Linked DNA regions of Homo sapiens: all the other regions are linked to region 6. Evidence: promoter capture Hi-C in 16 types of primary human blood cells and fetal thymus (Javierre and others, 2016). All regions are on one chromosome and are shown on one strand. The core of a region is centred on a gene start or on the middle of the fragment in contact, and the rest is flanking DNA. Distances in the headings are between cores, read along the strand shown. Region 1 has its middle 12 kb from the start of LINC03008. Region 2 overlaps KLHDC10 (kelch domain containing 10). Region 3 holds the start of ZC3HC1 (zinc finger C3HC-type containing 1). Region 4 overlaps ZC3HC1 (zinc finger C3HC-type containing 1). Region 5 overlaps KLHDC10 (kelch domain containing 10). Region 6 holds the start of COPG2 (coat protein complex I subunit gamma 2).

Region 1 (3,532 bases), core at 913-3,412, 510 kb before region 6:
CAAACCACACACAAGCCACACACACATCACAAACACACACCATAAGCCACATACACCACATCACACAAACACACACACCACAGGCCACACACACCACAAATAAAAAACCACACACTACAAGCCACACATACAAGCCACACACACATCACACACCACAAGCCACCCACATCACAGAAACACACACCAGAAACAACATACCACATCACACACACCACAAGCCGCACACACATCACACACACACACACACTGCAAGCCACACAAACATACCACAAAACACACACCACACAAATACACATCACACACCGCAAGCCACACACACTGCAGACCACACACACACACACAAGCCACAGATACATACCACAAACCACACACACCACACATCACACAAACACCACCCAACACTCACCCATACAACCTGCTAACCCCCACACACCATATACCACGCATACACATTGGAGCTACACATACCACATACACCACAAACCAGAAACACACACACACCATATACACAGCCCCATACATGTATTGCACACACCATATGCACCACACAAATACACCCTCACACCCCTCTACACACCCCACACCTACACAAACCACATACACCACAAACCACATACACCCCACACAAACATACGCACCATGCACCACACACCACACCCTCACACTGCAACCACATTCCCCAGATACACCAGAGGCCCATGGCCCCCTGCCCTGCGTGGGAGTCTGTGACGGGGACTTAGGAACTGTGACTCCAGGCAGGGCACGTTTGCCACGCACGCAGGCAGGCAGCACGGGCAGGAGCAGACAGTGGCTCACTCAGCCCGTTTTCGCCTTTGGAGACAAACTGCGTCCCTGCCTCCTGAGGGCTGTGCTGTGCGGAGGAGCAGAGGCCCCTGGTTACGGCCCCCTGACTCAGAGCCGGGGATTTTTGATCTCTTTTTGCAGACGGAGAACACGGATGCAGGGAAGAAAAGAGTTCAGCCAGGGGTGGCAGCCACTGGGCCCCGAGCAGACTCTGCCTGCGGTCCCCACTGGGAGTGGCTCCGGCGGGGAAGGGGCTGGCGCGCTGGCAGCCAGGGTCTTCCTGGGGGGCACTCGGGCAGAGGCCAGGGCCGGGCCAGACCACACGGACTCTTCCCTCCCCACCCCAGCCAGGGCAGAGAAGCTTCTGGCAGGAGAACAGCAAACCTAAGTGACCACCACAGGGGTGTGAACCTCCCCGGCCTCTGGGGCCATGGGGGCAGCCGCGGAGAGGCTGGGCCTGGCGCTGGTACCCGGGGAACCGCCTGGCTCCAAAGAGCAGCTCAGAAAAGTCAGTGGAGCCAGTTCCTGAACAGCCACGGGGACCGGTAGGAGGAAGGAGGAAGGAGAGGCCGTTTTTGACCTTCCTCCCTCTCCCTGCCTGGTCCAGGCGCACAACGGCAGCGGCCCCTGTGGAGGGCAGGGTTTAGGCATAGGGCCCCTTACAGGCCTGCGGGTCTCCCTCAGCTCCAGGGAGGCGCCGGCCTCGGCCTGCCGTCTTCTCACGGGTCCCAGGCCCTCTCTCTGCCCACGGCCACCCTGCCTCCCTCCACCTGAGCCCTGTCAGGCCCTCTCTCCAGAGCTCAGGGAGATGCTGTGGGGGAGGAAGGAGAGTGGCAGTCAGTTCTGCAAAGCATCTTCTAGAAAGGGGCCACAGAGTCCACCGATCAAGGGCTGTGGGCACCCAGGCACTATGGGCTGAGGGTCCCTGGCCGCTTGGCAAACACCTCACAGCTCTCGAGCCCACGGGAGCAGGTGAGAAACAGTTGCGTTTCTTTTGCCCACAACTCCCCATGTTACAGGAAACTAGTGATCATCGGCCTCCGTGTCCTCAGTGAGGCAGGGACAGCTGTGTTGGTGTGGCCCTGGAGCCTTTGGGGAGACCGTAGCAGGGCCACACTGCTTCAAGGTGAGACAGAAAAAGGTGCCTTCTCACACCTGGGCTTCCAGGTTCTAATGCATACACATGAGAGCTACACATACCACATACACCACAAACCCAGGGTGTGGGTTTGGCCTGGGCTGTGTGCTCCACCTGGGGGCTGTCCCAGGCCGGGGCAGTGCTGCCAGGGTGTGAAGGGGACACGGTGCCCAACTGCTTCTGCTTTGCTCACAGCTCTCAGCACCTCAGGAGCCAGAACCCCTCAGGGTGTGGTGGGGACAGCAGGGGGGTGGCGGGCAGGGGTGTGGTGGGTGGTGGGGAGGGCCAGGCCTGGTCAGAAGCCAGGAGGCGAGCCAGGCCCGAGGCTGACACAAGCCGGCTCTGGGCTCCAGCCAGGAGCAGGTGGCCATGAGAAGCCAGGCTCCCTGCCCCTCCTCGGGAGGCCCCGCAGGAGCCCTGGCACCTTTCCAAGTGCCAGCTGCGCAGCCTGGCCCAGAGTCCGGGCCCAGGAGGGCCCGCAGTGCCTGCAGCTGCCTGGGGACCACATGCGTGACTGGCTGGCCCCCTGCTCATCCCGCCTCTCTCCTCCGCCTGGCTTCGCGCCGCCTGCCTGCCCTCGGGGACAAGCGTGCCCATCTGACACCTCAGCGCCTGCCCATTCCCCGGGACCAGGCCATCTGGCCTCGCTGCTGCCTCTGCTCTGTGCAACCCCCATGCCGCAGCCCGTCGCCTCCTGCTCCAGCCTCCGCCAGGACTGTCCTGTGCGCCCATCAGGGTGTCCTTGGTACCTGGCTGGCAGGCTGTGCCCAGCCAGGAAGTCCTCCTGTAAGCTCTGCATGCATCTCGGTGCCAAGGGGCACAGCCCTCAGCACGGAGGTGGCCGTGGAGGGGATTATCAGAGTGCAGGGGCCCAGCTCTCCCTTGTCAGGCCACTGTCAGGCCTTCCTGTGACCCTCCCAATGGCGTGACCTCTTGTCTCCGCTTTGACCAGAGGCTGGAAGAGTCTGACCCAAGCAGGCAACAGGAGGTGCAGGGAGGGTTAGAGGAGCCAGCCTGGGGGGGAAAGCCAGGAGGAAACAAGCCCCCCAGCAGCGCCGCCAGGGGGCGTCCTCTTGCAGCAGTGTCCTGAGGCCACGCTTCTAGAAAGGCCTCGAACCCCAGCACCAGCAGGGCCTGGGCACTGACAGGCCCACTCTGGGCTTCTGGGCCGTCTGTAAAACAAGACAGTCCAACTGTTTGATCTCCAAGGCCCCTTCTAAGCTTTTCTGAGCTGTGACAAGGACAAAATCTCACCAAAAAACCTGAAGCAGCTGGAAAAGCCAACGCTACTGGCATGGGGTGCTTCATATTGTAAACCACACCTATGTGTGTGATGTGGGGTGGGCCACAGAGGTGTCTTCACAGGCCTGCACCCAGCCTGCATGGGCCCTTAGGAGGGCTCTGTGCTGGGTGTAATGCCCTGCTGTGGCTGTCTTGAAATTCTTGAACAGAGGGCCCCACGTTTTCATTTTGCTCTGGTTCTCTCGCAAATTATGTAGTTGGCGCTGGCTAAAAATACTTGGAATGTTGTTCCAGAAGCACTGTGGACATGTCTACATTGTTTTTGCTCTGCAGGATTTATTGAACATT
Region 2 (3,681 bases), core at 815-3,314, 540 kb before region 6:
GCATTGTCTCACGCCTATAATCTCAGCACTTTGGGAGGCCAAGGCTTGAGCCCAGGAGTTTGAGACCAGCCCAAGCAACATGGTGAGACCCTGTGTCTACAAAAAATACAAAAAAATTTGCTGGGCCTGGTGGTGTACACCTGTAGTCCCAGCTACTCCGGAGGCTGAGGTGGGAGAATCACCTGAGCTTGGGAAATAGAGGCTGTAGTTAGCCATGATTGAGCCACTACTCTCCAGCCTGGGCATCAAAATGAGACCCTATCTCAAAAAGAAAGAAAAATCTGTTGAACTGGTATTAGAAAATACTTGTATTCCTTAGCCCAATTATAATTTTTCCTTAGGGCTGGGCGTGGTGGCTCATGCCTATAATCCCAGCACTTTGGAAGGCCGAGGTGGGTGGATCCTTTGAGGTCAGGAGTTCGAGACGAGCCTGGCCAACATGGTGAAACCCCATCTCTACTAAAAATGTAAAAATTAGCTGGGCGTGGTGGCATGTACCTGTCATCCCAGCTACTTGGGAGGCTGAGGCAGGAGAATTGTTTGAACCTGGGAGGCAGAGATTGCAGTGAGCCAAGATCACGCCACGGCACTCCAACCTGGGAGACAGAGCAAGACTCTGTCAAAAAAATAAATAAATAAAAAACAAAAACAAAAACTAACAAAAAAACACAGTAATTCTCCTTAGCGATTGAGCAAAGAGACTTTTAATCCTCTTTGTTGAATTCTTTGGCAGAAGTTGGGAAATATGGGTGATATAAGAAATTGGAGCCTAAATAAAGATCTACCGGCTGGGTATGGTGGCTCATGCCTATAATCCCAGCACTTTGGGAGGCTGAGCCCAGGAGTTCGAGACCAGCCTGTGCAACATGGTGAAACCCTGTCTCCACTAAAAATACAAAAAATTAGCTGGGTGTGGTGGTGTGCACCTGTAGTCCCAGTTACTGAGGAGGCTGAAGTGGGAGGATCATTTGAGCCCAGGAGGCGGAGGCTGCAGTGAGCCAAGATTGCACTGCTGCATTCCAGCCTGGGCAACACAGTGAGACCCTGTCTCTAAATTAAATAAATAATAAAGATCTACCTATCTCCTTGTGGGTAAAAGGGCTTGGGAAAGCCACTAGCAACTCCTGTCCTTTCCCTCTTTGTTTCCGGCACCTTAGCATTGTACTGTTATGATGAGACTCCTGATGGCTTTTGAAATAAGGAGGGAGTGGAAGGACTAGTCAATGTTTGCTTAACATGTAACAAAGGGATTGTTTTGAGTTACACGTAGTGTGTCTTTCACTGTGTTATATCAGTGTGGTTCCCAGTCTTTCTGTAAGTAATGGAACTTCTGTGTTTGTGTGTTTGGCAGGCTTTCCTGCAGCCCGAAGGTGTCACAGTTGTGTTCAAATAAAAAATGGTAAGGATTCTAAATAACATTTTGCTTCCATTTCTGTAATTGTATCTTCTGAAAATGTCTTATTTCCTAAGATAGCCCCCTCAAAAGAGGCTCATAACTTTGAGAAAAGTCTATTTCTTGTAAACTTAAAGGGAAATTCATAGTTATGCCTCTGTCAGCTGTTTTCATAATGTAAACTAGTATGGTGTTTGGGTTCCTTCAGTTATTAGAGAACTCAAAAAATGGTGATAAATAAGCTTTTATTGTAGCACTTGATCTTTCAGCATCCCACACCTCAACAGATGTCTGTGGTTATGGTGGCTAATACTAATAATCTTGACTGTTTATACTGTAGAGACCTCAGCGAACATTGTATTAAAATTGTAATAACTCCTTCAGAGTGTTATTTCATAAAGTTGATTCTGTTCTCTCTCTGATGCCAAATGGAACTCTTCACTCATTCTTTGGCCATATTACAACAAAGGCATTGTATGGCTTCAGAAAGCAGCTGCAGCTACTTTAACTAAATGTGATAAGTGACTCCTCTCTGGATAACCTTCCTGTCTTTTAATTTACAACTTATTTCATCGTCTGATATAGCTCTTAAATTTTTTCTGGGAGGAAAGCATGTATAAATGAGTTAGATAGCCTGTATGCTTTTAGCAACTTAGTTCAGATACAACTAGGATTATTCTGCCATCTCTAGTTCAGAGGGATTTTTTATTGTGCTCCTGCTTTCTGGATAAGATTTATAGATAATGACATTGCTCACATTTCTCTCTGTGAGAATGGAACTGTACTTTCAGTTTTCCTTGAATCCTAGCCAAAAAAGTTTCCAGTGCATTTTATAGCTTAAGTATTGGCTTAAACTTGGTCTAGACCTGAGTTAAGAAATTTATTCATTTAATTCTTTGAGGCCAAGCACCATACAAATAGAATTCAACCTTAGTTCTAGGCATTTCGTTTGAAGGTTCACATAGCCTTTGTTACAAGTTATCTAATTAGTTATAACTAACTGATTTTACCAGAAAACCCACACCTTTCATTTTGGGAAAATTATTCCTAATAACTGTACAGATCAAACAGAGCTTCAGTTTGTCCTCTTCTCGCCGAAGAAAGCTTGGAAGAGCCTCTTTTGTGTTCCTAAACTGAACATTGCAGTGAAGTGAACGTTCCTCCTCAGGTTAAATGTCTACATAGAGACTTTAGTCTCTGCGAGCAGATAAATGTATATTCTTTCCAGGACATTATTTAAAGAAGAGTTTGCAAACTGGTGGCCTGCAAATGTGTTTTGTTTGGCTCATATGTGTATTAAAATTTTTTTTGAGGCCAGGCATGGTGGCTCATGCCTGTAATCCTAGCACTTTGGGAGGCTGAGGCGGGAGGGTCACTTGAGCCCAGGAGTTCAAGACCAGCCTGGGTAATATAGTGAGACCTTGTCTCTTAAAAAAAAAAAAAAATATATATATATATATATATATATATATATACATACTAGCCAAAACTTAAAAATCAAAATGTTTCATTTTTAAAAACATAACCAGATTTCCAACTTGCCTTGAAAAAAATGGACGATCTGGCAATTGCCAGCCTTAAGTCTGTTATAGGACCGAACAGCTGGGGCTGCATAGCTGTCGCCTCTTTTAGAGCATGAGCATTTCTGTCTGTTTTCCTGAGACTTCTGTTTGTTTATCTTCCCTAGACCCCCTTGCTCATTTACTTTCTGTGCCTGGAATCTGTAGGTATGTGTTTGAATTTGGTAACTTTGACATGAAGGCTCCTTAGAGGCTTGCATTCTTAGTCCCAGGGAAGACCCTGACATAGCATCTCAGTTCTGTTGAGGGACAAGACAACAGCATGAGAGGCTGCACAGCAGAAGTCGTCTGTGTCATGGGGCAATCCACTTCACTGGCCGCATGTCAGCTGGCTGTGTGACCTACTCTAAAACACTCCATAGCTTTGGCTCTTTTCCTTTGTGTGATCTTGGCTTTCTCTTTTCTTCATAGATGTATTTATTTGTGGGGGCTATAATGGAGAGGTGATCCTGGGAGATATCTGGAAGTTGAATCTGCAGACTTTCCAATGGGTGAAGCTCCCAGCTACCATGCCAGAGCCAGTTTATTTTCACTGTGCAGCTGTTACACCAGTAAGTTTTTATTTTCATATCTTCCTTATGTAGTTACAGATGATAAGGAAATCTTTTTAGAGATATTAGCAAGAAAAAAAGCCAGATATAGGCAAACCTTAGATGATTAATAACATATTTTTAAAACTTCCTTCCAAAGCTAGGCCCTCCTCTAAGA
Region 3 (3,811 bases), core at 113-2,612, 620 kb before region 6:
AAACAAGTATAATAATAATGCTTATTTTCATAGGTTTAAGGTCAAGATCGAATGTGATAATATATACAAAAACATACTATATACAAGTATTAGTTATTATTTCTTCTTTTCTCAGGCTCTTAGTTTTTTCTTCTGTAAAAAGAAAAGGTTAGATAACCTCAACTGTCCCTCTGAGTGATAACATATTAGGATGCTGACTTTCCTATATAATTTCTTACCAAGGTTTTATTCTTAAGTTTAAAGCATCACAGTAAGTGGTGTAATACCTTGGAGGAATTCTAGAAGCAGGCAGAAAGTGCAATTCACATGAACTAAAAAAGGATATAGAAAATGTTTCCACTCTGCTAAAGAAGGCTTCTTTGCTTGTAGATTCCAATGAAGGTTGTTCCGCTTGGGGTGATCCATTAACTGACTGGGATGTGGCAGACGTGTCCTTCCTAATATAAAGTGGCAAAACTGTTGGTAAACCTTTCACAGTACCCTCTGCTTAAATGTTATCTAGCTTCTCTACACATCGTATCATAAATCACACCAACGCTGGATTTTAAGCTTCCTAAAAATCATTTTACTCATGTCATTCCTCAGCTTATTATTTTCAATGGTTTTATAATACTTACTAAATAAAATCCAAATTTTTCAGTCTGGCATTCAAAACTCTTTACAGTTTACCCATATCTAAACTTCAATTTCTACCTCTACAGGGCTCCACTAATCCTAGCAAACTATTCTCCTCACTCACTCACTGTTCTCCACAAGTATTTGGCATAACTTTAGTAGACAGAAAATAAGACTCAAGACTTCAAGTATGCATTATACAATTTGAATCTCTTCAGAAATTCGACTTTTTTTTTTTTTGAGATGGAGTCTCGCTCTGTTGCCCAGGCTGGAGTGCAACGGTGCGATCTCGGCTCACTGCAACCTCCACCTCCCAGGTTCAAGCAATTCTCCTGCCTCGGCCTCCCCAGTAGCTGGGATTACAGGCGCGTACCACCAGGCGTGGGCCCGGCTAATTTTTTGTATCTTTAGGACAGACGGGGTTTCACCATGTTGGTCAGGCTGGTCTGTAACTCCTGACTTTGTGATTGGCCCACCTCAGCCTCCCAAAGTGCTGGGATTACAGGCGTGAGCCACAGCGCCTGGCAGAAATTCGACTCTTAACAGCAGAAAAAACAATTTTGATATTTCTACCTGGAGGGACCTTTCATACCCACTCCTTCCAAAAAAAAAAGAACCAATTAGAAAATTCGAATCAAAGATCTTCGGGAGATTTCATGAAAAAAAAATCAGGGAGAAAAAAACTCAGCAAAGCAATTCTCTCATTTTCAGTGGAAGGCATTTCAACAGTGCCTGGGGAATTGCTGAAAGACAAGCATTTATTTATTTATTTAGAGACGGAGTCTCACTCTGTCACTCAGGCTGGAGTGCAGTGACGCGATCTCGGCTCACTGCAACCTCCGCCTCCCAGGTTCAACCAATTCTCCTGCCTCAGCCTCCCGAGTAGCTGGGACTACAGGCGCGGGCCACCACGCCCGGCTAATTTTTTGTATTTTTAGTAGAGATGGGGTTTCACCGTGTTAGCCAGGATGGTCTTGATCTCCTGACCTCGTGATCTGCCCGCTTCAGCCTCCTCAAAGTGCTGGGATTATAGGCGTGAGCCACCGCGCCCGGCGACAGGCATTATTTTAATAAAAATAGGATTACATCAACGATTATAGCTCAAAAGAAATAAACTTACTCTAAGACTCTCAGAGATTCATAGAGAGCCTCAAGCGGGTGTGGTTCTAGGCCAAAAAAAATTCACAGCATCCATAAACTTGGATGGGTAAAAATGACATTTATTTCTCTCTAAATGACAAGATTTAGCATTTTCTTCAATTATGAATGAAGGTAAAAACACCATAGTAGTATTAGCAGTACCTGCTAATTTGTCACCAATGGAAATAATGTTCCCACATTATGGTGGTTGCATGTCTTCAAATACCTTTGTGCTCATCACTACTTCAAAATTATGGTTGACAACACATACTACTAGATATTATGGACTCTTTAATAAAAAGCATTGTTACTGCGTAACTTTTTCCTTTTACCATCTTGATAACTACATTCCAATCTAACTGGTTTCCTTTATAATCCTATGTAATTTACTTTAAGCATTTAAAAATATTCTGAGAGTTAATAAGCTTCTCCAGAGAGCCAAAGGGGTCCACGGCACAAAAAAAGGTTAAGAATCCCCAATTAAGAGAAGTCAAGTGAACTCATTCAGTTAACGGTCCTCTTTACTTCCAAAAATAATGTCCGATGACAAAATTTCGGCTGCGGTTGGGAATCTGGTACACCCCGAGGGGAAGATCAAAGCCGATCAAACATAGTAACCAGAGTTTCTTTCAGATTCTAAGAAGCCATCCCCACTGCCCGAGTCGCCGACCGAGGGGAACCTCCCCCAACCCGCCACCCCTTCCCCAAGCCTTCTTCAATCTTCCAACGCCGGACCCAGGGTTAACTCGTGAACTCACGCGTCCACGCCTCCCTCTTCCGGGGCAATCCCCTCATCTATCAGCTGCCGGATTTTCTGGGGGGTCCCTTCTGGGGAGCGAACTACTGCACCCCAATTCTTTTCAACCCCTACGGCAAACGCTTGTCCCTCACAGGGCGCCGCCATCTTGGTCCGCTGCCGAGTTGCTTCCCCGAGAGTTTGAAGGCTCCGGAACTTCCGTCCTGGGAGGTTAATATCCGCCTCTTGAGGCAGCCTGGCTGGGAAAGTCTAACCGCGGGGCCCACGCCTTTTCTCATCATTTTAGAACCTTAGAGCGAGCTTAAGGAGGGCTGTACTGTTTAGGACAATCTTGATTAATCGTTTCCTTTATCAACTAGCATATTTAGGTTGATAAGAGATTTTTAGAACGCTGTCAGTCCAAATTCAGCAGGGATGAGGGGCTCAACTTAATTTTCAAGTAATATTAACTAATACGGCCGGGCGCCGTGGCTCATGCCTGTAATCCCAGCGGTTTGGGAGGCCGAGGTGGGCGGATCGCCTGAGGTCAGGAGTTCGAGACCAGCCTGGCCAACATGGTGAAACCCCATCTCTACCAAAAATACAAAAATTAGCTGGACTTGCTGGCGGGCGCCTGTAATCCCAGCTACTAGGGAGGCTGAGGTAGGAGAATCGCTTGAACCCGGGAGGCGGAGGTTGCAGTGAGCCGAGATTGCGCCACTGCACTCCAGCCTGGGCGACAAGAGCAAAACTCCGACTCAAAAAAAATAAAAATAAAAATAAATTAACTCATACGACCCTCCTAAGTTGCACCTTTCTACAAGCGAGGAAATGGTGACCCTCATTGGAGAGCAAATAATTTAGAATCCTTGTTGGAAACCGTGTTATGGATGGATTTAGAAGTCTGTGGCATTTGACACTATTGATACTCCTTCCTTAGTCCAACAAATATTTATTGAAAACGTCCTATTTATTTTTTTTGAGATGGAGTTTCGCTCTTGTTGCTCAGGCTGCAGTGCAATGGCGCGATCTCGGCTCACTGCAACCTCTGCCTCCCGGGTTCAAGCGATTCTCCTACGTCAGCCTTCCGAGCAGCTGGGATTACAGGCATTCGCCAACACGCCCAGCAATTTTTTTTTTTTTTTTTTGTATTTTTAGTAGGGACGGGATTTCACCATGTTGGTCAGGCTAGCCTTGAACTCCTGACCTCAGGTGATCCGCCCGCCTCGGCCTCCCAAAGTGTTGGGATTACAGGCATGAGCCACCGCGCCCGGCCGAAAGCATCCTATTGATAGTCTCTAGGCACTAGCAATGACAGTC
Region 4 (3,652 bases), core at 534-3,033, 640 kb before region 6:
TTAAGAAAGAGAAAACAGAACAGAGTTAGTGGAGATGGATGCTTAAATAGGTGAAAAGTCTTAAAGAACCATCATTTTATAACTACCAAGTTATAACTTACTGTGAGCTAAGAATGAAAAAAATGGCATGTTCCTAAAGTCTACACAAGAGATACAAAAAGGCTTGCATTGTAAGGTGAAGCTTAACTGGGTACCAGAGTAAATAAAGTATACAATTAGGAATTCTACTGGTAATACCTAAGTTGGAAAAGAAGGAATCTGCCTGAAATCTAAGCAGTGTGGAAACTGATTATATACTATAGTATAATTATCTCTGGCATTACCCAATTCATCTACTGCATACTTGGTACACTGGTACAAAGGCAAATGATGAGTGCAGAAAGGCCTTGCTAAGCTACTTCCTAAAGAGGTCAGTCTAGTAGGCCTAGAATGAAGTAGAAGCTACACTGAATCAGCCTTTTTTTTTTTTTTTTTTTCCGAGACAGAGTTTTTGCTCTGTCGCCCAGGCTGCAGTGCAATGGTGCGATCACGGCTCACTGCAACCTCTGCCTCCCAGGTTCAAGCAATTCTCCTGCCTCAGCCTCCTGAGTAGCCGGGATTACAGGTGCCTGACACCACACCTGGTTAATTTTTCTATTTTTAATAAAGACAGGGTTTCATCATGTTGGCCAGGCTGATCTTTAACTCTTGGCCTCAGGTGATCCACCCACCTTGGCCTCCCAAAGTGCTGAGATTACAGGCGTAAGTCACCACGCCCAGCCCTGAATCAGCTTTAATAAAGAATGAAAACACGTTTTGGAAGGGATTCATAGGAAAAGTGAAGAGAGAACATGTCATCCTAGCCTGATCGTCTAAAAAGTAGGAAGCCACTCGAGTCACTGGTCTTCTCTCAGCCTCAAATTGACATTTAGTTGCTCAACAAAGTCACTCATAATCTTTTTTTTTTTTTTTGAGACAATCTCGCTGTTGCCCAGGCTGGAGTGCAGTGGCGTGATCTCGGCTCACTGCAGGATCCGCCTCCTGGGGTTCACACCATTCTCCTGCCTCAGCCTCCCGAGTAGCTGGGACTACAGGCGCCCGCCACTGCGCCTGGCTAATTTTTTATATTTTTAGTAGAGACGGGGTTTCACCGTGTTAGCCAGGATGGTCTCGATCTCCTGACCTCATGATCCGCCTGCCTCGGCCTCCCAAAGTGCTGGGATTACAGGCGTGAGCCACTGCGCCCAGCCCATTTTGTGATGTTTTAACTCTTGTTTCCATCTTCCCTTCCCCAGCTCAGCTCTGTGGTAGCCTTGAAAACCGACATCCCAGCGGGGCGTGGTGGCTCACACCTGTAATCCTAGCACTTTGGGAGGCCAAGGTGGGTGGATCACCTGAGGTCGGGAGTTTGAGACCAGCCTGACCAGCATGGAGAAACCCCGTCTCTACTAAAAATACAAAATTAGCCAGGCATGGTGGCGCATGCCTGTAATCCCAGCTACTCGGGAGGCTGAGGCAGAATCGCTTGAACCCGGGAGGCGGAGGTTTGGTGAGCTGAGATTGCGCCATTGCACTCCAGCCTGGGCAACAGAGCAAAACTCCATCTCAAAAAAAAAAAAAAAAAACAGAAAACCAACATCCCCACAATCATGGTGAAAACCAGTAGCTTAGCAGTCACCGGAGAGCACAGAAAAGAGGTGGAGCTCCTCCAAAGCCCCATTCCAGAGAACCACCATTATTTGATCTGTGTGGCAGTTGCCTAGAACATTATACTGTCGCAGTGAGAACACCCTTTTCCCCAGACAGGTTTTCAAAAATGATCATTGGCAACTGTTTAACATCACAGTTGCTTTGAGGCAGCAGTATGAGTTGGAGCAAGTAACAAGCTGACCAAAAACCTTAAAAGCTGGGAAATGAAATGTCCATAGGCAGGCTTGAAAGGCTCTGACATATTCCCTGGAATCTAGAAGGACATGTGCAGGTATAGAGCTATACACATGCCCAGCAAAGACCTGAAAAGGCCCTAAGCTCTCTCATCTCTGGCTGATGCTGAGGTTCTGCACAAGCAGGAAGTGAAGGCTAACACAGAACTGCAAACTGCCTGCTTGACTACTGAAGGTGTGCTCCCCCCACCACACACAGAGCTCCTTGGCAAGACTGGGGGACTTATTTGTTCAGGCATTTAAAGAAATCTCTGTCCAATCGTCCTGTGAAAGTTGATTTTGAGGCCGGGCACAGTGGCTCACGCCTGTAATCCCAACACTTTGGGAGGCCGAGGTGGGCGGATCACGAGGTCAGCAGTTCAAGACCAGCCTGGCCAACATGGTGAAACACTGTCTCTACTAAAAATACAAAAATTAGCCAGGCATGGTGGTGGGTGCCTGTAATCCTAGCTACTCGGGAGGCTGAGGCAGGAGAATTGCTTGAACCTGGGAGGTGGAGGTTGCAGTGAGCCGAGACCACGCCATTGCACTCCAGCCTGGGCAACAGAACAAGATTCCCTCTAAAAAAAAAAAAAAAGTAAGTTGATTTTGATAATTTTTGTAAGTGTTCTTTTTGCTCTCATAGAAGATTTTCAGATGCCCTTCCTCCACCATCCCCACTGAAGACATCCTACACAGATTGAGACAAGAAACATGAATTTGAGGCCAGGTACAGTTGCTCATGACTGTAATCCTAACATTTTGGGAGGCTGAGGTAGGAGGATCACTTGAAGCCAGGAGTTTGAGATCAGCCTGGGCAATATAGTGAGACCCCATCTCTACCAAAAAAAAAAAAATTAGCTGGATGTGGTGGCATACGCCTGTAGTCATAGTTACTCAGGAGGCTGAGGCAGGAGGATTGCTTAAGCCCAGGAATTCAAAGCTGCAGTGAGCTATGATTGTGCCACTGCACTGTAGCCTGGGAGAGAGAGAGAGAGGAGAGAGAAACGTGTACTTGATAGAAGAAATGGAAGGAAGGAAGGAAGGAAGGAAGGAAGGAAGGAAGGAAGGAAGGAAGGGAAGGAGGGAGGGAGGGAGGGACAGTAAGAGGGGAAGGGGGGAAGGGAAGGAGGGAAGGGAGGGAGGGGAGGGAAGGAAAGGAAGGGAAGGAAAAGAAAGAAGGGAAGGAAGGGAAAGATGGGAAGGAGGGGAAGGAGGGAGGGAGGAAGGGAGGGATGGACTACCTGATAGAAGAAATAATACTTACAAATATATCAGTGCTCTCCTGCTTACTAAAATTAATTTTTAAAATTAATTATTATTAGCCAGGTGGCACTTGTAAACCCAGCTACTCTGGATACTGAGGCAGAAGTATCACTTGAGCCCAAGAGTTCAAGGTCAGTCCGGGCAATAGAGAGAGACACCATCTTTTTCCTTTGCTGCAGTGCAGTGGTGCAATCATGGCTCGCCACAGCCTTAACCTCCCAAGCTTACGCGATCTTGCCACCTCAGCTTCCCGAGTAGCTGGGAACACAGGTATGCGTAACCATGCCCAGCTAATTTTTTGTATTTTTTGTAGAGATGGGGTTTTACTATATTGTCCAGGCTGGTCTTGAATTCCTGGACTCAAGCAATCTGCCCACTTCAGCCTCCGAAAGTGCTGGGACTACCCTGGCTGCATTTTAGTTTAATTGTAATGATTATTCTCTTATTTGAGTTTCAGATATTCACAAGTGGGGTAATGGATCTCC
Region 5 (3,468 bases), core at 785-3,284, 560 kb before region 6:
TGTTCATTTTGTTACAATGCATCCAGTACCCTTATGACATATATGCTTTTCTGTATGTTACATTTGAATACAAACTTTGTGTTGGGCGCACAGTGGCTCATGCCTGTAATCCCAGCGCTTTGGGAGGCTGAGGTGGGAGGATCTCTTGAGCCCAAGAGTTGGAGACCAGCCTGGGCAACACTCTGTCTCTAAGAAAAAATTCAAAAATTAGCCGGGCGTGGTGGCACACACCTGTGGTCCCAGCTACTTGGGAGGCTGAGATGAGAGGATTGCTTGAACCTGGGAGGTCAAGGCTGCAGTGAGCAGTGATTACACTGCTACGTTCCAGCCTGGGCAATAGAGCAAGACCCTGTCTCAAAAATAAATAAACAAATAAACCCCACATCCATTCCTGGTAAGGGAAAACATTCTTACGCATCCAGGGATAAAAGAAGATTTATTTTATGACAGAATACTATAAGAAACCAGTAGTAAATATCATATATGATGTATCATTTATTGATAAGAAACCAATAGCAAACATAATACATAACGGCATAACCTTACCAGTGTCCTCATTAAAGTAAAAAAAACGAGACAAAGATGTCCACTGTCATCTCCACTATTCAACCTTGTTCTGGAGTTTTCAGCCAATACAGTAGAAGACCAGGAAAAAGAAAAAAGAAGTACACATATTGGAAAAGAAGAGTTAAAGTTGGCATTAATAACAGATGATCTGATTGTCTACCTATAAAATTCAAGATAATTCATGATAACTAATACTAGAGTTCAGAAAATTGGCTGGACAAAATTTAAACTTGCAAAAAACCACCTTCCTATATATTAACAGCAACCAATTACAAAATAAAAGAGGTATCTAGTTACAATTGTATGGAAATTTATAAAGTACTTAGAAATAAAAAAACAATAAAACAATGAAACTTGATGAAATACAAAACTAGCTGGGCGACCAGGTGCCATGGTTCACGCCTGTAATCCCAGCGCTTTGGGAGGCCGAGGTGGGCGGTTCACGTGGGGTCAAGAATTCAAGACCAGCCTGGCCAACATGACGAAACCCAGTCTTTACTAAAAATACAAAAATTAGCCGGGCGTCGTGGTGCACGCCTGTAATCCCAGCTACTCGGGAGGCTGAGGCGGGAGAATTGCTCGAACCCAGGAGGCAGAGGTTGCAGTGAGCCAAGATCGCGTCACTGCACTCTAGCCTGGGCGACAGAGTGGGACTCCGTCTCAAAAAAAAAAAAAAAAAAAAAAAAGAGCCGGACGCGGTGGCCCGTACCGTAGTCCCAGCTACTCTGGAGGCTGAGGGTGGAGAATGGCTGGAACCCGGGAGGCGGAGGTTGCAGTGAGGTGAGACCGCGCCACTGCACCCCAGCCTGGGGGACAGAGCAAGACTCCGTCTCCAAACAAAACAAAACAAAAAACCCTTCCCCGGGAAAAAAAAAACAAAAAACAAAACAAAAAAAAACTAGCTGGTTGAGGTCGTGTGCGCCTGGAGTCCCAGCTACTCCAGACGCTGAGGTGGGAGAATCGCCTGAACCCGGAGGCGGAAGTTGCAGTGAGCCGAAATCGCGCCACTGTACACCAGCCTGGGCGACAGAGCGAGACTTGTCTCAAAAAAAAAGAAAAAAGAAACTATACTCATGGACATCAAAAAAGACAAGAATAAATGGCTAGGGATTATGTTCCTTAATGGGTTATCCCAGATAAAATCCTCAAGGGACTTTTTAAAAATAGAATTTTAATTGCCATAGAACTTCCGGTTTAATTGCAAAAATTGCAAAAATGGTAGAAATTCTCCTGTATCCTGGCCGGGCACGGTGGCTCACGCCTGTAATCCCAGCACTGTGGGAGGCCGAGGCAGGTGGATCGCTTAAACTCAGGAGTTAGCCGCCTCAAGACCAGCCTGGGCAACGAGACGAAACGCCGTCTCTACCAAATATCCAAAAAAAAAAAAAAAAAGCTGGGCGTGGTGGTGCGCGCCTGTGGTCCCAGCACTCATCAGGATGCTGAGGTGGAAGGATCGCTTGAGCTCGGGAGGTGGAGGTTGCAATGAGCCAAGATTGAGTCATTGCACTCCAGCCTGGGCGACAGAGCGAGACCCCATCTCAAACAAAAAAAAAAAAAAAGAAAGAAAAGGGAAAAAAATGTCTCCTGTATCCTTTACCCAGATTCCCCAAATGTTATTTTGTCTTTTACTTTATCCTGCTCCCTCTCCTCTCTCCCTTCCCCCCTTTATACACAATACGCACATACATATTTTTCTGTTTCAACCATTTGAAAATTGCAGACATGATGTCTTGCTCTCTCTCTCTTTTTTTGAGACAGGCTGTCACCCTGTCGCCCAGGCTGGAGTGCAACAGCGCCATCTCAGCTCACTGCAGCCTCCGCCTCCGGGGTCTAAGTGATTCTTCCGCCTCAGCCTCCTGAGTAGCTGGGACTGCAGGTGTGCGCCACCACACCCTGTATTTTTTTAGTAGGGTCAGGGTTTCACCGTGTTGACCAGGCTGGTCTCGAACTCCTAATCTCAAGTGATCCACCCGCCTTGGCCTCCCACAGTGCTGGGATTACAGATGTGAGCCACTGAGCCCAGCAGGTCTCTTTTTTTTTTTTTTAATTTTTTAAAATTTAATTTTTTTTAGAGATGAAGTTTTGTTCTGTCACCCAGGCTGAAGTGCAGGGGTGCAATCATAGCTTACTGCACTCAAGCGATCCTCCAGCCCACCTCAGCCACCCACGTAGCTGGGACTACAGGAATGTGCCACCATGCCTGGCTAATTTTTTTTGGCAGGGTCGGTACAGATAGGGTTTCACTATTTTGCCATATCTCTTTATGTCTGTGTACCAAAGTGTTTGCTCCTGAAAAACAGACATTCTCTTCCATAACTGCAGAACCTGTATCAAAATTAGGCATCAACACTGATTATTAACCCTATAAATAATGGGTACAATTAATACTACTATATAAGTTACAGACCTTGTTTCAGATTTTGCCATTATTATTTTGCCACTATCCTAATAATGTTCTTTTTGTTTGTTTGTTTTGAGACGGAGTCTCACTCTGTTGCCCAGGCTGGAGTGCAGTGGTGCAATCTCAGCTCATTGCAACTTCCACCTCTCAGTTTCAAGCGATTCTCATGCCTCAGCCTCCCGAGTAGCTGGGATCACAGGTGCCCACCACCACGCGTGGCTAATTTTTGTATTTTTAGTAGAGATAGGGTTTCACCATGTTAGTCAGGCTGGTCTCAAACTCCTGACCTCAGGCAATCTGCCCGCCTCAGCCTCCCATAGTGCTGGGATTACAGGCATGACCCACCGTGCTGGGCCAATAATGTTCTTTAATAGCAGTAGAAAATCTGAGATTGTGTGTTACATTCTGTTGTCATGTATCTTTAGCCTCCTTCAGTGTTGAACAGTTTCTCAGCGTTTGTCTTTTTGACATTGATATTTTTGAACAGTTGCAGGCTAGGT
Region 6 (3,544 bases), core at 400-2,899:
CATCCTATACTTTCTCATTCCCTTAGGTTGACTACTTCAACTTTATGGGCTATACCAGTTAAATAAGGATCACAATACTTATCTATATCATACTAATACAATGAGATTAATACAGATAACTGATTTCAATAACCTTGCACTAAACACCTGTTCTTACATTTAAAATTCCCAACCTGTGACAGTCTTCATGTCTTTGCATTTCTATAAGCTCCAAATTCTCCTGTGACAAGTAACCCCTCTTTCTTTTCCCTCAAATCTATATTCCCTAAACTCTGTTACGTTTCTTGTTTTGCATGTCGTGATCACAGCAGCCCAGGGATTCTCTGCCCACCACTCTAAAACAGAATAGAAAAGAAAGGGCACAAGATACTTCCCAGTCATACCTCCTGTAAAACAGCACTCTTCTCCAGATGCTGGAAAGGATTGGAGCCACTACCTATTTATAAAACAAAACAAAAAAATGTCCTGAACAGCTGTTCTACACAAACTTATATACTTTCCAGAGAAGGGTACTGAATGCTTGGGAAGTGAACACTTGGATGGCACAGTGATAATCATGGCTAATACGCATACGAACTGAATGAAATCATTTTGATCCCGGCTCTGTCACTGCCATACTCGAAGAGCTGAGACTTCTCTTTCGCAGCAACCCTCTCCAAAATGAGTGTCTTCTTTCCCTGCCCTCTTTTTCCATGAATGTTAAAAATGTGTCATTTCCACAACAACGAAGATTAATGAGATTGTAGTAGGGTGCTTTTGATTTCCTTAGGTAAGCAGTATTTTATGTGTTTCTAACACTTAAGGAGAGGCAGAAACGAAGTTTCCCAGAGAATCATGCAGGCGTAAAGGTGCAAGAGGCCATGGAGGTTGACTAACCCAACCCCCTCTCACACTGTGGGAGATGCTACCAAACACTGAGAATTTTTTTCTTTTTGAGGATGCTTGGCATCTTCCCCATTTGCTCTGGACCAAAGACGGGCATCAAGACGCAGGTCACTTCTGGACACCTGAGCATTCAACGAGCTGTGTCCCACGGGACAGTCTTGCCCCCGGGGACCTGGACAGAGCCGGTGACCCCAGGAAAACGATAAGGTACCAGGCACCTGAACGTTCCTCCACACACACCCTGTGCCGTCGACCCCAGCCCCGGGAACAGGGTGCTCCCACTAGGGGTCCGACCCTACCAGCACCCCTGGACGCGGAGACGCGCGCACGCCCTCGGCCCCCGCCGGAGGCCCGCGCGCAGGGGAGGAGGCGGCTCGGAGGGGCTGCGCCGCAAGAGGGGCGGGAACGGGGCGCGCGCGGGCGCCGGGGCGGGAGCGCGCGGCCCGAAGGGAGGCTCCGGCGCCCGGGGGAGGGGCTACGGGCAGGCCCCGGGCAGCCGCGAGGGGAGGGGAGGGGCCGGCTCCAGCTCCGGCCCCCTGGCACGGCGGCGCCCACGCCCCCAGCCCCGCCGGCCTGAAAGCAGGTGGCGGCGGGCGGGGGAAGGGGCGTCCCGCGGCTGAGGGTGGGCCTCGGAAGCCCCGCGCGTACCAGACTCCTCGTCCTTCTTGTCGAATTTTTTAATCATCTTGGACGACTTCCCAGCGCCCAGACCCACCGCAACCGTCCCAGGCGCCGCAGCCGGCGAGCGGAAGAGGCTGCAGGAAGGCCGGCCCCGCGCTCTCACGCCGGTTGGGCCGCCGCGCCTTCACTCGGGGCCAAGGCCCGCCCTCCCCGGCCGCCCTCGGCCCCCGGGACGCAGCCACGCCCCCTTCTCCTCTTGCGGCCCGCCGGAGACTTCGGCTCGACCCTCCCGGCTTGCGACCCGGGAGCCCACGCCCGCAGCAGCAGGAATGTGGTTTTATTTGGGTGGCGACTTCTGCGGACCCCTCAGTCTCAAGAGAGCGAGGCGGGAGGACTGAGGGGTCTGTGTTCACCCGATGACCGTGGCCTTTTTGATAATCCACTGCGGGGCCCTCCCGTTGCGGAAGGCGCTCTCCCCGGGCGCGGTTCTGGTGGGCATGTCTTCCAAGAGCGATGCGAGTGTCAGTGGTTCCCGAATCACTTTGGAAATTGGCCTTTCACTCGCTGACTTCTTGGAAGCTACGACAAAGCACAGGCACCCTGGTGAATGTGGCTTTTCAGAAGTACTCGAAGGATACTTAATGTGAGATGTAAAGGAGACGCACTTGGAGGGACCAGAGGCTGGTCTTTAGAGGGTAGATTTTGGACCGTGTAATACCATTCCCAACCTATTTTATAATTTTTGGATTCCTTCATTTCATCAAAACCCAGTGGAAAATTCATTGCCAGTTTAGAGTCTTCCTTGTTCAAGCCTATTTCTTTCAATGATTCCATCTGAAACCATATTGACACTTAAGAAACTCACTAAATTAACGTGCATTCATTCCTAACTCATGTTCCTCTTTTTCTCAGAGTGTATGCTGGCTTTCTGTTCTCTTGTCTAAGAGTGTAGCTAAGAAACTTTGTCTGCCTTTGGCTTCACTGGCATAACTTGTTTAGAAATGTAAATTGGGTCTATACTCAACAGGATCGTGCCCCTGCAAAATTAGAGAAATTCTAACCTAGATTACATTCTACATCCTAGAGAAATTCTTTCCCTGAAATACAGATTTAAGATGAACTGTTGATATCCTACATATGGTATCATTTAAGATTTAACTCCGACTTGACTAAATGTACTATTAACTACTATGTTTGCTTTATATGGCTTGTAAAGGTCAAGTCATACTTTGTAGGTGGAGTTTTCTTTGAAGGAAATAGAAGTCTGCACTCATTTATTCTGGGGGTGAAAATAAACAGGCTTTGGGGAAGGAAACATCCTCTTCCTCTTCCTTGGCCCAAGGGTATTGGGAACCTAGGCAGAGACAGTGTAGATAATAGGCCCAGAGGTTCTCAAGGTGGGTAATGCCCCGGAGACCTGCTGAGAAGTAGAAGGACCTGAGTTCAGATTTGGGGCTGACCCTAAGACTAGCCCCTTGTAAAGCAAGATCAATCATTCTCTGCTGTTCTTCAGCTTTTCTGTATATCTATGAAGTTTTGTTTAATACCACAGGTTGTTTTTAGCTGTGCAGTATTTACGGAGTTAAGAGCATCAGTAGGTGGAAATGGGATGGGATGTGGTGGCAGATAGGTATAGCAGGAGCAGAGAAGCCTGAAGAAGCCAGTTAAGGGATGGTATAATATGACCCCAGGCCTTCGGTATCAGGACTATTTGGACTGAGGATGGCTGGCAGACGGGTTGAGCAATCACTGCAATGGCTTTGTGGGACAGGCAAGGATACCTTAGGGAGTCTCAGGAATTGTTTGAGGAGAGAAACCCAGTAGGAGAAATGGACCTTATCTTAAAACCATGAGCTGGTGAAGTCTGAGGACCCACCAATTATATATATCTAATACACAAATGTGTACTCAGTGCCCTGAAATTCTTCATTGGGTCCAAACTGCCTACTGGATAAAACCCAAACCTTTATTTAAATAATATTTAAGGCATTGTGGTATTTTCGATTTCTTGTTATTGTTGTTTGTTTGTTTTTCAGAC

The links. Contacts are between HindIII fragments. The CHiCAGO score rates a contact against its expected background, and 5 or more counts as called.
Region 1: a contact is called between a fragment that was not itself captured here and the fragment with the promoter of COPG2 in region 6, in 1 of 17 cell types (fetal thymus). The highest score is 5.0, in fetal thymus.
Region 2: a fragment that was not itself captured here is called in contact with the fragment with the promoter of COPG2 in region 6 in 1 of 17 cell types (erythroblasts); the score reaches 5.2 in erythroblasts.
Region 3: a contact is called between a fragment that was not itself captured here and the fragment with the promoter of COPG2 in region 6, in 5 of 17 cell types (total B cells, fetal thymus, megakaryocytes and 2 more). The highest score is 6.7, in total B cells.
Region 4: a fragment that was not itself captured here is called in contact with the fragment with the promoter of COPG2 in region 6 in 1 of 17 cell types (monocytes); the score reaches 5.3 in monocytes.
Region 5: a contact is called between a fragment that was not itself captured here and the fragment with the promoter of COPG2 in region 6, in 1 of 17 cell types (total B cells). The highest score is 5.1, in total B cells.

Annotation. Positions count from the first base shown.
Region 1 is chr7:130,152,218-130,155,749 of GRCh38, forward strand. No RefSeq gene overlaps it. Among named protein-coding and RNA genes, the nearest start is that of LINC03008, 12 kb to the left of the region's middle. RefSeq lists a silencer at 1,995-2,124. The HindIII fragment of the contact is 1,998 bases long and covers 1,164-3,161 here.
Region 2 is chr7:130,126,053-130,129,733 of GRCh38, forward strand. KLHDC10 (kelch domain containing 10) reads left to right here. Exons shown (of 10, transcript NM_014997.4): 8 at 1,352-1,399; 9 at 3,385-3,524. Among named protein-coding and RNA genes, the nearest start is that of LINC03008, 14 kb to the right of the region's middle. The HindIII fragment of the contact is 862 bases long and covers 1,634-2,495 here.
Region 3 is chr7:130,048,708-130,052,518 of GRCh38, forward strand. It overlaps ZC3HC1 (zinc finger C3HC-type containing 1), which reads right to left and starts at 2,667. Exons shown (of 10, transcript NM_016478.5): 1 at 2,514-2,667; 2 at 326-437. The coding sequence starts at 2,659. RefSeq lists enhancers at 2,001-2,793, 2,421-2,730, 2,791-2,980. The HindIII fragment of the contact is 1,631 bases long and covers 548-2,178 here.
Region 4 is chr7:130,029,739-130,033,390 of GRCh38, forward strand. All of the region lies in intron 4 of ZC3HC1 (zinc finger C3HC-type containing 1), which reads right to left. Among named protein-coding and RNA genes, the nearest start is that of ZC3HC1, 20 kb to the right of the region's middle. The HindIII fragment of the contact is 3,209 bases long and covers 180-3,388 here.
Region 5 is chr7:130,106,615-130,110,082 of GRCh38, forward strand. The region is part of intron 2 of KLHDC10 (kelch domain containing 10); the gene reads left to right. Among named protein-coding and RNA genes, the nearest start is that of LINC03008, 33 kb to the right of the region's middle. The HindIII fragment of the contact is 4,503 bases long and covers 1-3,468 here.
Region 6 is chr7:130,667,099-130,670,642 of GRCh38, forward strand. It overlaps COPG2 (coat protein complex I subunit gamma 2), which reads right to left and starts at 1,650. Exons shown (of 24, transcript NM_012133.6): 1 at 1,534-1,650; 2 at 384-436. The coding sequence starts at 1,570. TSGA13 (testis specific 13) reads right to left here. Exons shown (of 8, transcript NM_052933.4): 8 at 1,545-2,085. The coding sequence ends at 1,916. RefSeq lists an enhancer at 853-962 and silencers at 1,233-1,822, 1,913-2,022. The HindIII fragment of the contact is 8,378 bases long and covers 1-3,544 here.